Regions from separate parts of the Homo sapiens genome. Here region 2 is linked to region 1. Evidence: promoter capture Hi-C in 16 types of primary human blood cells and fetal thymus (Javierre and others, 2016). All regions are on one chromosome and are shown on one strand. The core of a region is centred on a gene start or on the middle of the fragment in contact, and the rest is flanking DNA. Distances in the headings are between cores, read along the strand shown. Region 1 holds the start of VPS35L (VPS35 endosomal protein sorting factor like). Region 2 overlaps PDILT (protein disulfide isomerase like, testis expressed).

Region 1 (6,108 bases), core at 1,170-3,669:
TTTTTGCTTATTTTTACTTTGAGTGGAATGTTCATTAATGTAAATTGTATTTATTTTTATACTTTTATTTTCACTAGTTTTGCTTCTAGGCAAAAAGCAAAATAAACTTTTCATCTTAAAGAAAATCTAGTTTGATTGTTTTTATTTACCAGGGGAAGGACTATTAAGAAATAGGCCGGGCATGGTGGCTCATGCCTGTAATTCTAGCACTTTGGGAGGCCAAGGTGGGTGGATCATGAGATCAGGAGTTTGAGATCAGCCTGGCTAACATGGTGAAACCCCGTCTCTACTAAAAATACAAAATTAGCTGGGCGTAGTGGTGCATGCCTGTAGTTCCAGCTACTTGGGAGGCTGAAGCAGGAGAATCGCCTGAGCCTGGGATGGGGAGGCTATAGTGAGCCGAGATTGTGCCACTGCACTGCAGCCTGGGTGACAGAGCAAGACTCCATCTCAAAACAAAACAAAAAAGAAACCGATATTAGCCAGGCATGGTGGTTCACATCTGTAGTCCTAGGTACGCTGGAGGCTGAGGCAGGAGGATCACTTGAACCCAGGAGTTACAGGTGGCAGTGAGCTATAATCGCACCACTGCACTCCAGCCTGAATGAGACTTTGTCTCCAAAACAAAAAAGAAAAAAGAAACAGATATTGAAAAGTATTAGGCCAAAACAAATATTGTATATAATCATTCTTTACAAGTTCCATGAAAGATATATCTCATTATTTAATATGTCCCCTGGGCCAGGTGCAGTGGCTCACGCCTGTAATCCCAACACTTTGGGAGGCCAAGGCGGGAGGATCACCTGAGGTCAGGAGTTTGAGACCAGCCTGGCCAACATAGTGAAACCCCGTCTCTACTAAAAGTTGGACTTTTCAGAAGGTAAAACTCAGGCTGGAAATGTCTTAACTTATTAAGAGATAGAAGCCTGCTAAGGGAAGGAGAGGGAGAAAAGAGAATGCGAAGGTTGAAGCTCACATCAAAGCTGTTAATTTGCACAACTTTAAGAATCCTCCTCTTGTTACTGCCTAATCATGCAGTGTGAGCCTAGGAAAAGGCTCCTCACCTTGACCTCTTATTGAGATGTTGCATGTGATAACATGCATGGCTGTATGGGAAGAGCTCCTTGCTTTCCCGTGGCCACCCTTTAACCCTTGTTCACTTCCAGTGTTGGGAATAGCAGGTACGAGTGGATATACTTTCCTACTCATACTGAGCTGAACACTGGAGGGCCCGTTCTGGAGATGATCCTTTTCCCTGTCATAGGTCACCATCTCATGAACAACCACAGACCACCACCCCCGAATGAAAAGTAAGAGTTATAAAAACATCGAATGCTTTCTCTCTAAGGGACCATAATGGATATCTAAGTAAGTTATAAAAGTAATAATTAAAAAAAAAATTTTTTTTTGAGATGGAGTTTCGCTCTTGTAGCCCAGGCTGGAGTGCAATGGCGCAATCTCGGCTCACTGCAACCTCATCCTCCCGGGTTGGAGCAATTCTCCTGCCTCAGCCTCCCGAGTAGCTGGGATTACAGGCGCCCGCCACCATACCCAACTAGTTTTTGTATTTTTTAGTAGAGACGGGGTTTCACCATGTTGGCCAGGCTGGTCCCGAACTCCTGACATCAGGTGAACCACCCACCTCGGCCTCCCGAAGTTCTGGGATCATAGGCCTGAGCCACCGCTCCCGGCCTAAAATAATTTTTAAAAACGTTCTGTGGTCGAAATGGATATCCACCTTCCTAGAAACACTGCTTTGCCAAGTTGGACGAAATGCGAACCCTAATTTCCCCACGTGCATTAGCTGTAGTCAATCATATTAGATCTAGGGCAGCCCTCGGTTGCTAGTCGTGGGAAGGGCATTCTGCAAGTGTCTAAAACCGCCCGCAAAGCAGTGGGTAAAGCAGCGGCCTAGAGGGGGCATGGCTGTCCCACGCCAAACAGCGTATTAGCCGCAAAACCAGGTACTGGCTGAACCTCAGTTTGCGTCTTCGCTCCGCCGCCTTCTGGAGTCCTTTCTGCCCCTAGAGGACGCAGGTGAGCTAAGCAGCAGTCATGCCCTTTACCATCATGACGCCCGCAGGCGGGACCACCCGGCACTGTAGACAGCTGCCCTTTACAATCATGACTCATAGAAACTACGGCACTCTGGCCGTGGCCGACGTTGCTCCTCCGAAGCATGGCGCCGGCGGGAGTTGTAACCCGGGCTGTCCGGAGCGGGGAGCTGCCCCTCACAAGCATGGCGTCAGCTGAAAATGAAGCCTGTGCTGTGCGGAGCGTCGCCTGCCCCTCACAAGCATGGCGTCTGCAGAAGGTGCTGTGCGGCCGCTGCGGGGCGGCCAGCTGCCCTTCACAAACATGGCGGCCGAGGGGTGCGGGGAGTGGCGGGGTAAGGATGGGAAGCCGAGCAGACGGCCCCAGAACAAGCGGTCATGTGACTGGGAAGATGGCCGTCTTTCCTTGGTAAGGAAGCAGCGGCGGGTGGGCTTTGGAGAGGGGCTGTCCTTACTTGTGATGGGGTCGGCCTGGGTCTGAGAGTGTGAATTCCTCTCTGTCGGGTTCTGGTGGTCGACCGGCCACCCCCAAGTTGTCTTGACCGTAGAATCCCTGGCCGCTACCGCGGTCCAGCGGAGCAATCTGAAGCCAGACTGGCGGGTTCTTGGTTCTCTCCCCGTCTGCTGCCTCTCTGCGCCTTCCACGGGCCCCTGTCCATTCATTCCCTAAAGAAAACTTGAGTTTCCAGGCTTCCGCGTCCCCAGAAGTTGGCGCGGGTTCTGGGGTCGCTGGATGAGGGTAATGGTGGACTCAGCTTTTAAAGTCTGGACGAGTCGGGAGATCTGGCTGTTGGTCAGTTTCCTCAGCTCCTCTGTTCACCTGGAGACTTGCTTTTCTCATCTGTAAAATGGCCGCCATTCATCCTATCCTAGGCACAGCCCTCAGACTTATTCCTTGGCCTCAAGGAGCTGACAGTATAATGGGGCAGACGCACAGTAGAGGGATGTCTAAAGAAGGCATTCGGATGAGGCACCAAGAAGGGAGTGATTATCCCCACCAGGGGGCTAGGGGAAGGCTTCAGAGAGGAGGAGTTAAATTGGGTCTTGGAGGATGAATAGGAGTCCACCATAGGGAGGGCGTGGCGTGTGCCTGGTTGGCAGGCCCGTAGGTCCCTTGTGGTTGGAGTAGCTAGGAATGAGTGACTGAAGCTTCAGGGTTCAGCAGGTGGTATGTGTGTGAGTGAAGAACTTGAGGAAGTTGTGTTGTTGATGATAGTGGGATTTGGGGACGGGGAATCTCTCCTGCATCTCAGAAAGCGAGATAATTTACTTTCTCTTCAAATGATGTGAAGTAGCTTAGATTAAATGAGCAAATGAAAGACCTTAGAAATAATCAGGTACAACCTTCTGCTTTTGAGCTTGATAAACACTTCATTTTGTCTTATTCCTTTCATTTGCCCAACACTTAAGAGACTGCTTCCTTGACACGCTACATCAGCATTGAATGCCTCTGAGCACTTCCACACCCTGAGGTTTTTTTTTTTTTTTCAGTTAATAGTCATGCTGGCTGGGTATGGTGGCTCACGCCTGTAATCCCAGCACTTTGGGAGGCCGAGGCTGGCGGATCACCTGAGGTCAGGGGTTCGAGACCAGCCTGGCCAACATGGCGAAACCTAATCTCTACTAAAAATACAAAAATTAGCTGGGCTAAATTAGTGGTGGCACGCACCTGTAATCCCAGCTACTTGGGAGGGTGAGGCAGGAGAGTCGCTTGAACCTGGGAGGCGGAAGCTGGAGTGAACCGAGATCATGCCACTGCACTCCAGCCTGGGCAACAGTGAGACTCTGTCTCAAAAAAATAATAATAAAAAATGAAAAAGTCATGCTGGCTTGACCAAAAAGCTAACCAAAAACATGAGAAACATTTGACTTCAGTGGATTTATCTGAAGTTTGCAATCAGAAAATCCAGGAAGATGCTGTCTTAATCTCTGCATCCCAGTACATTTCTACCTTTGGAATTTTAATTTTATATTACAAGCAGGCAAACAGGTGCCATAACGCTTTTAGTATTTAGGGTCTCTATAGTTCCTAATATGGCCGTGCTCTAAATATTTTGTTGTTGTTGTTTTTGTTGAGACGGAGTCTCGCCCAGGCTTGATTGCAGTGGCGTGATCTTGGCTCACCGCAACCTCCGCCTCCCGGCTCAAGTGATTCTTTGCCTCACTCTCCCGAGTAGCTGGGATTACAGGCGATGCCACCACACCAGGCTAATTTTTGTATTTTTAGTAGAGACGGTGTTTCATCATGTTGGCCAGGCTGGTCTCGAACTCCTGACCTTAAGTGATCCGCCGACCTCGGGTTCCCAAAGTGCTGGGATTACAGGCGTGAGCTACCACACCCGGCCCGTGCTCTGAACATTTCCTTTTGAAGTATGCATTCATCTTTCAGTTTCCCTAATAGACTTCTTGCTCCTTAAAAGTTAAAAGGACTGGCTGGGCGCGGTCACTCATGCCTGTAATCCCAGCACTTTGGGAGGCCGAGGCAGGCGGACCACCTGAGGTCAGGAGTTCCAAGACCAGCCTGCCCAACGTGGTGAAAGCCCGTCTCCACAAAAATACAAAAAGTAGCCAGGCATGACGGCAGGTTCCTGTAATCCCAGCTACTTAGGAGGCTGAAGTGGGAGAATCGCTTGATCCCGGGAGAATCACTTGATCCCAGGAGGCGGAGGTTGCAGTGAGCCAAGATCGTGCCATTGCACTCCAGCCTGAGCTACTAAGCGAGACTCCGTCTCAAAAAAAAAAAGTTAAAGGGACTGAGTTTTGTCCATCTTTGTATGTGGAGCCTAGAACATAATGGTGAGTGCTGAATAATATTTATGAATGAATGAGGAAACTGAGGAGGACTGCAGAGGAGAAATGAGTTTCTGTCATTAAATTTACATTTATCAAGTCCTTATTTTCTGTCAGACATCACTCGTAAAGTGCGTAACATGTAACATCATTAGGTTCTTATAACAACCCCATGTTGCGGAGGAAGAAATAGAGGCAGAGAGATGAAGCAGTTTACTTAAATTAGCCCCACAAGGGATAGCTGAGGTTTGGAAGCCAGAGGCTATGATAGTAATCATCCTCATCAGCTGGACTTCAAATCTATATCCTGGGCTGAGGTTTCTGGCTTGCGGGGTTCCCCAAATCCCACTGCCTTGTCATGGGTCTCCCCAGGAATGCCTCTTTTTACCCACAGTTTTTGCTATCCCTGCTATATTTTGGCCTGGCTAGGAGATGAGATGTCCTGTATACCCTAGATCACATTTTCCGTTTAATCCTGTGGTTATAGCACACTTGGAAATACCACCCTTTGGACCGGGCAAGGTGGTTCATGCCTCTAATCCCAGCACTTTGGGAGGCTGAGGCGGGTGGATCACTTGATGTCCGGAGTTCAAGACCAGCCTGACCAACATAGTGAAACCCTGTCTCTACTAGAAAAAAAAAAAAATTCCTCAGGCGTGGTGACGGGTGCCTGCAGTCCCAGCTAGTCCAGAGGCTGAGGCAGGAGAATTGCTTGAACCCAGGAGGCAGAGGTTGCAGTGAGCTGAGATCGCGCCACTGCACTCCAGCCTGGATGACACAGTGAGACTCCGTCTCAAAAAAAAAAAAAAAACAACCCTTGGAGTCAGAATCTCTACATCATTTTAAGAGTTTTTTTTATGTGTAGCGGTGAAGGGGGCTGGGTAATATTGTGATTGTGGAAGAAAAAGCTGTGTGGTCCGATTATGTGATTAGTAACCAAAAACTTATTTGAGAATTAAAATAGTTGAGCAAAGCATTTAGTGGATTTTGGTGTTTCCAGTATAAGGAGATTAATTTGGTTAATCATAGTGGGATTTCTGTGTATCCATATTATCAGAGGTAAATAATTTAAAAATAGGCCATTGTCAACCTTTAATGTGCATATAAACCACCTGAGGATTTAGTTAAAATGCAGATCTGATTCTGTAGGCCTGGGGTATTTCAGCCCGCCCAGGTGATGTCATTGCTGGTGATCTGTGAACCACATTTTGAATAGCCAAGGGCTAAGCCCAGCCAATAGTGGAGGTGTGAAATGGTGGCCTTT
Region 2 (6,108 bases), core at 1,384-3,883, 820 kb after region 1:
ACTGGGAGGAGAGAAGTCACCAACTTATAGCAAAAGAATTAGGACACATGAGAAACTCATTCTCCTAAAGCAAAAACAATTAGCAAGTTATTTATAAACATTAAAAAATCTACATGAAAGGCTATTATGAGACGTTTCATGATTGTATCTAAGTTACTTATGTTCTTCCCCAAACATCTCCTACTGCACCTCTAAGGGTTGGTGTATTTTCGAATGAGTGCATGTTTATCCTGTGCTATCGGTTTTAATATATGAGGATGCTTGGAAAGAGGTTAGGGAGAGAAACTGGCCTGGCCCAAGCATGGCTGGTGGCCTTCAGATTCATAGAGAACAATGGCTCTGAAACCAGAAACTAAGACATCCTTTTATTAAGTGATGTTCTAAATGGACCCCTAAAATGATTAGCCACACTGTTAAAACCCATTAAATACAGATGCCAATCTTCTCTCTTTTCTTTCCATTCCTGTTCATTTGAACCCTTGGAGCTTCCCCTAAAAACCAGATCATTGGATGGAGAAAATTGGGCAATCAAAACGGAAGAGTCTCCTCACACCACCCCCTCCCAGACACAGCACTTCTCATCAGTTGAAAGCCTCCTCCCACCTCTTGGTCCCAGTACCTGGAAGAAGCCAACGATGACCAAGGGCCTGGATATCACAAACTCTGCCACCTGCTCGCTGCTGTTGAACAAAAATGCTTTCTGGCTAATTTGTCGTCTCAACCAAACGACTAAGGCAGCAGATTCAACCACTCCTGGAGAAAGACACAGTCAAATAGATACCAGAGAAGTTTCCTCTTGAACCAAAGCAAGAAGCTGGTCTTTCTCAAGTTTAATGCATAGAACCTTCTTGTCTCAGGCTCCCACCCCTTGAAGGCCAAAGTCAGTTCCTCCATTCCCCTCTTCCCCAAGCTCCAAGCACGAACATTAACAACAGCAGCTAAATGTTACTGAGCACTCAACAAGGCCCAGACACTGTGCTGAACGTTTTGCATATATTAAATCTTCACAATAATCCTATGAAATAGACACTTTTACTCTCCCCATTTTGCAGATGAAGAAACCAAGGTTCAACTGCCAACAGGCACCCAACTAGAGAACCTGAAGATCAAATTTAGGAGGAGGCATTTCCAGACTTCTTTTCTTATGAACTCTCCAAGGTGACAGGAAGATTGATTTATATTTTAAAATCTCAATAAAATATAACTGGAAAGACCACATAGCTCTGTAACCTTGGGAAAATCCTATTATCTTCCTGCAGCCCCCATTCCTCAGCTGAGATCCAAATGCCCTTTAAGGTCATCCACTCCTGACTGCCATTTCTCAGCTATAGCATGGTTGGTGTCAAGCACACAAAAGTCTTAGCTTCCAAAATTAAGACACATATACTATATCTGGGAAGACAAATTGGTGAGCCAGAAGGTACAGAAGGCTATACACAGGTGAACGTGTGTTTTTCTAGGATTATCAGTTTCACATGATGGAAAGTAATGTAAAATATTATATATTTGTATCTGCTATAGAACATTAAAACTGAACATTTTAAATAAGTTTATGAGCTAAGCATGGTGGCCTATGCCTATTTCCCAGCACTTTGGGAGACTAACGCAGGAGAATCACTTGGGGCCAGGAGTTTGGGACCAGTCTGGGCAACATAGCGAGACACTCAGCTCTACAAAAAACAAAAGAAAATTAGCCAGGCATGGTGGCATGTGTCTGTAGTCCCGGCTACTTGGGAGGCTGAGGCAGAAGGATTGCTTGAGCCCAGGAGTTCAAGGCTGCAGTGAGCTACAATCAGCCTGGGAGACAGAGTGAGACCTTGTCTCTAAAATAAATAAATAAATTTATGAGATAAAGCAATATTCGTTGTGAGTAGCTTTGAACTACATCCACAGACTGTTATTCATTTACGCACTCATTTATTTCTTCCCTCATTTATTTACTTGGCAAATATGTACCGAGTGCTTACTATCAAGTGCTGTACTCAGCCCTGGAGATATAAGGATGAACAGAAACAAACACATTACCACCATTTCACAGCTCTCATTCTGTCGAGGAAGACAACAATCAAATAAATGCATGAACAAGGGCATCATTACACCCAAAGGAAATGTTTGAAATCAAAGTTCTGCGAGTCTGTAGCAAAGATGCCTGACTTAGACTGTGAAGTCAAGGAGGACTTCCTGGAGGAAATTATGGATGAGCTGTAAAATAAAGAATGCACTGGGCCAGGCGCAGTGGCTCATGCCTGTAATCCCAGCACTTTGGGAGGCCGAGGAGGGCGGATCACAAGGTCAGGAGATCGAGACAATCCTGGCTAACACAGTGAAACCCCATCTCTACTAAAAATACAAAAAATTATCCAGGCATGGTGGCACACGCCTGTAATCCCAGCTACTTGGGAGGCTGAGGCAGGAGAATCGCTTGAACCCAGGAGGTGGAGGTTGCAGTGAGCCAAGTTCGCACCACCGCACTCCTGCGCGGGAGATAGGGCAAGACTCTGTCTTTAAAAAGAAAAAAAAAAAGAAAGAAAGAAAAGAATGCTCTGGAGTTAACTAGGAGGCATTAAGGAGAGGGAAAGTCTTCTAGGAGAAACAGCCTATACAAAGTCCTGCAGCAGGACAAATTGCTACCTGAGGCTGGATGAATGCACCCTGAGCTACTAAATCAACTGCAAAGGCTCTACCTTCGTTATATTTGTTTTATTTCATGAGAACATGAAGGCTTTTCAAAAACTTATAATAAAGTATATTTACATGCAGAAAGGTGCATAAATGATAATGTATGGTTAGATGGATTTTTACAAAACGAACACACTTGTGTGACTACAACCCAAATCGAGAACTAGAACATCACCAGATCCTCAGCAGTCCCTGTTGTGCCCACTCCCAGCCTCTACTCCCCTCAATCCAAAAGTAACCACCACTCTAACTACTTCTTCTTCTCCTTCTTCTCCTTCTTGTTCTTCTTCTGCTTCCTCTTCCTCTTCTTCTCCTTCTTCTTCTTTTTATTTTACCTTAAGTTCTGGGATACATGTGTAGAACATGCAGGTCTGTTACATAGGTATACATGTGCCACGGTGCTTTGCTGTACCTATCAACCCATCACCTAGGCTTTAAGCCCCGCGTGCATTAGGTATTTGTCCTAATGCTCTCCCTTCCCTCGCCCTCCACTCCCAGACAGGCCCCAATGTGTGATGTTCCCCTCCCTGTGTCCATGTGTTCTCATTGTTCAACTCCCACTTATGAGTGAGTGTGTTTGGTTTTCTGTTCCTGTGTTAGTTTGCTGAGAATGATGACTTCCAGCTTCATCCATGTCCCCGCAAAGGACACGATCTCATTCCTTTTTATGGCTTTGTAGTATTCCATTGCCACCTTAACTTGTAACAGATTACATTAGTCTGCCTGTTCCTGAACTTCATATAAATGTTCTTGGCTCTGGTTTCATTATGTTTGTGAGATTCAGCCACAGTTTTTCATGTACTTGAAGATTCATTTCCACTGCTGTGAATATCCCACAACTTATTTGTCCATTCTCTGCTAATGGGCATTTAGTTGCTCTCATTTTAGGGCATTTTTTTTTTTTGAGACAGTTTATCCTTCTGTCACCCAGGCTAGAGTGCAGTGGTGTAGTCGTGGCTTACTGCAGCCTCGATCTCCCAGGCTCAAGCCATCCTCCCACCTCAGCCCCCTGAGTAGCTGGGACTACAGGCATGTACCACCACACCTGGCTAATTTTTATTTTTTGAGACAGAGTCTTGCTCTGTTGCCCAGGCTGGAGTGTAAGGGCTCAATCTTGGCTCACCGTACCTCTGCCTCCCGGGTTCCAGTGATTCTCCTGGCTCAGCCTCCCGAATAGCTGGGACTACAGGCACGTGCCACCACACCCCACTAATTTTTTAGTATCAGTAGAGACAGGGTTTCACCATGTTGGCCAGGCTGGTCTCGAACTCCAGGTGATCCTCCCGCCTCAGCCTCCCAAAGTGCTGGGATTACAGGCATGAGCCACCACGCCCAGCCCACACCTGGCTAATTTTTAAGCAATTTTTAGTAGAGACGAGGTTTTGCTATGTTGCCCAGGCCAGTCTCGAACTCCTGGGCTCAAGCAATTCTCCCACCTTAGCCTCCCAAAATGCTGGGATTCCAGGCATGAGTCACCATGCCCGGCTGGGGCTATTCTGAATGAATTCTTGTGCATGTCTCTGGGGCACACTGTATGCACTTCTGTTGGGTGTATAGCCAGCAGGAGAATTTCTGGTCATAGCAGATGCCATGTTCAACTTTAGTAGATATAGTTAAGGTCATGTTAAAAGCCACAATGAGTCAAACCTATGGAAATTCATGTGAAGCTGATATGGTGGCTTCAAGAGAAGAGAGAAGGAGGAGGCATCATGCCACCCTCAGACCTTGGTACCCCACATCTGCTGTAATTCCCTCCTCTGAGATATCAGCCTCAACACTGAGTTTCTGTACAGTGTTTCCAGCCATCTTTAGGTAAAAATAAGTCACACTTGGAAACAAATGGTTTCTCTTATATGCTTTTGTCTGGCAAAAGTATATTGTAAGTGATCCAAAAGGAATTGATTTACAAAATCTGAAAATATCCAAAAACAAAACCTGCCAAATGAATTTAAATTTCAGGTCATCAGAACCATTGCTCTGATGTCACTTTGTGCCACCCTCTGCCCTTTCCACACTCCAACGTTACAGTTATCTTCCAGAACACTGGCTTCAGCCTTGGCTTGTCCCTCCTGATGGGCTGCCCTTTCCTCAGCTCTTCAAGGGCAGTGCCTTCTTCTGCCTGTTCAATTCTCAGTTGGTTCTTCTTTTCTTTTAGCCAATCACTCTCTGTCTTATGACCTGTTCTATTTTCTTTTCTTTTATTTTCTTTTTCTTTTTTTCTTTTTTTTGAGATGGAGTCTCACTCTGTTGCCCAGGCTGGAGTGCGGTGGTGTGATCTCAGTTCACTGCAACCTCTGCCTCCTGGGTTCAAGCAATTCTCTGTCTCAGCCTCCGGAGTAGCTGAGATTACAGGTGCCCGCCACCACACCCAGCTAATTTTTTGTATTTTTAGTAGAGATGGGGTTTCACCATCTTGGCCAAGCTGGTCTTGAACTCCTGACTTCGTGATCCACTCGCCTTGGCCTCCCAAAGTGCTGGGATTACAGGCGTGAGCCACCGTGCCCAGCCGAGCTACCCTATTTTCTTCATTGAGTCTATCCCTTCTTGAAATTATTAGAATGATTTTTCACTAGCTTGTTCAGTGTGAGCTCCCAGTAAGCTCCTGTAATGCCTGGCACATAGTAGATGCTTAAGAAATCTTTCTAGAATGAATGAATGGGCTGAATGAATCATCAGGGAAGCTGGCTTGAGGAAACTTGATCTTGGGCCATCTTCTTGGGGACGTGTGAGCTCCATTTGCCCCTCTGGCCCCTGTGGGACCGAGGTAGTTATGAACTCTGCAAATTGTTGATTCCTTTGTGCCTGCAGATCAGGCACTGCCCTTGTCAGGGACCTCCTTTGGTGCTTGGCTCTGTGCCAGAGGACACGGTGACAACTGAGGTGTGAATGCAATGTCAATGATTGACTAGGACCAGCACTGGGCTGCATATTTCCAGGCACAGACTGTGGCTGCATCATTAATAGAGGCCTAGAGGCAACCTGAGTCTCCCTCCTTCCAGAGCAATGGCCATGGCCAAGTCTCCTGCCATCAATCCTTGGAGATTAGATGAGAATGGGACTGGGGCTTTGACCCTGCAAGGACTAAATCCCACCAGTGTCCTAAGAGGAGTTTTCATCAAAGTCACATTGCAGAAGATGCGTAAAGCACTGTCTCCTCTCAGCTCAGAGGAGCCCTGGCAAGTAGGCAGAACTGGCCTTACTCATCCTGTTTAGAAAATGAGAAATTGGGCCGGGTGCGGTGGCTCACACCTGTAATCCCAGCACTTTGGGAGGCCGAGACAGGTGGATCATGAAATCAAGAGATTGAGACCATCCTGGCCAACATGGTGAAACCCCATCTCTACTAAAAATACTAAAAATTAGCTGGGAGTGGTGGCACATGCCTGTAGTCCCAGCTACTCGGGAGGCTAATGCAAGACAATCACTTGA

What was found. The method cuts DNA at HindIII sites, captures the fragments that hold promoters and counts their contacts. A CHiCAGO score of 5 or more calls a contact.
Region 2: a contact is called between a fragment that was not itself captured here and the fragment with the promoter of VPS35L in region 1, in 1 of 17 cell types (total CD4 T cells). The highest score is 5.2, in total CD4 T cells.

What each region holds. Positions count from the first base shown.
Region 1 is chr16:19,553,284-19,559,391 of GRCh38, forward strand. It overlaps VPS35L (VPS35 endosomal protein sorting factor like), which reads left to right and starts at 2,420. Exons shown (of 31, transcript NM_020314.7): 1 at 2,420-2,463. The coding sequence starts at 2,447. It overlaps CCP110 (centriolar coiled-coil protein 110), which reads left to right. Exons shown (of 14, transcript NM_001323572.2): 14 at 1-125. RefSeq lists enhancers at 2,015-2,494, 2,054-3,016, 2,875-3,104. The HindIII fragment of the contact is 7,423 bases long and covers 1-3,201 here.
Region 2 is chr16:20,375,449-20,381,556 of GRCh38, forward strand. PDILT (protein disulfide isomerase like, testis expressed) reads right to left here. Exons shown (of 12, transcript NM_174924.2): 4 at 620-753. Among named protein-coding and RNA genes, the nearest start is that of UMOD, 26 kb to the left of the region's middle. The HindIII fragment of the contact is 9,970 bases long and covers 1-6,108 here.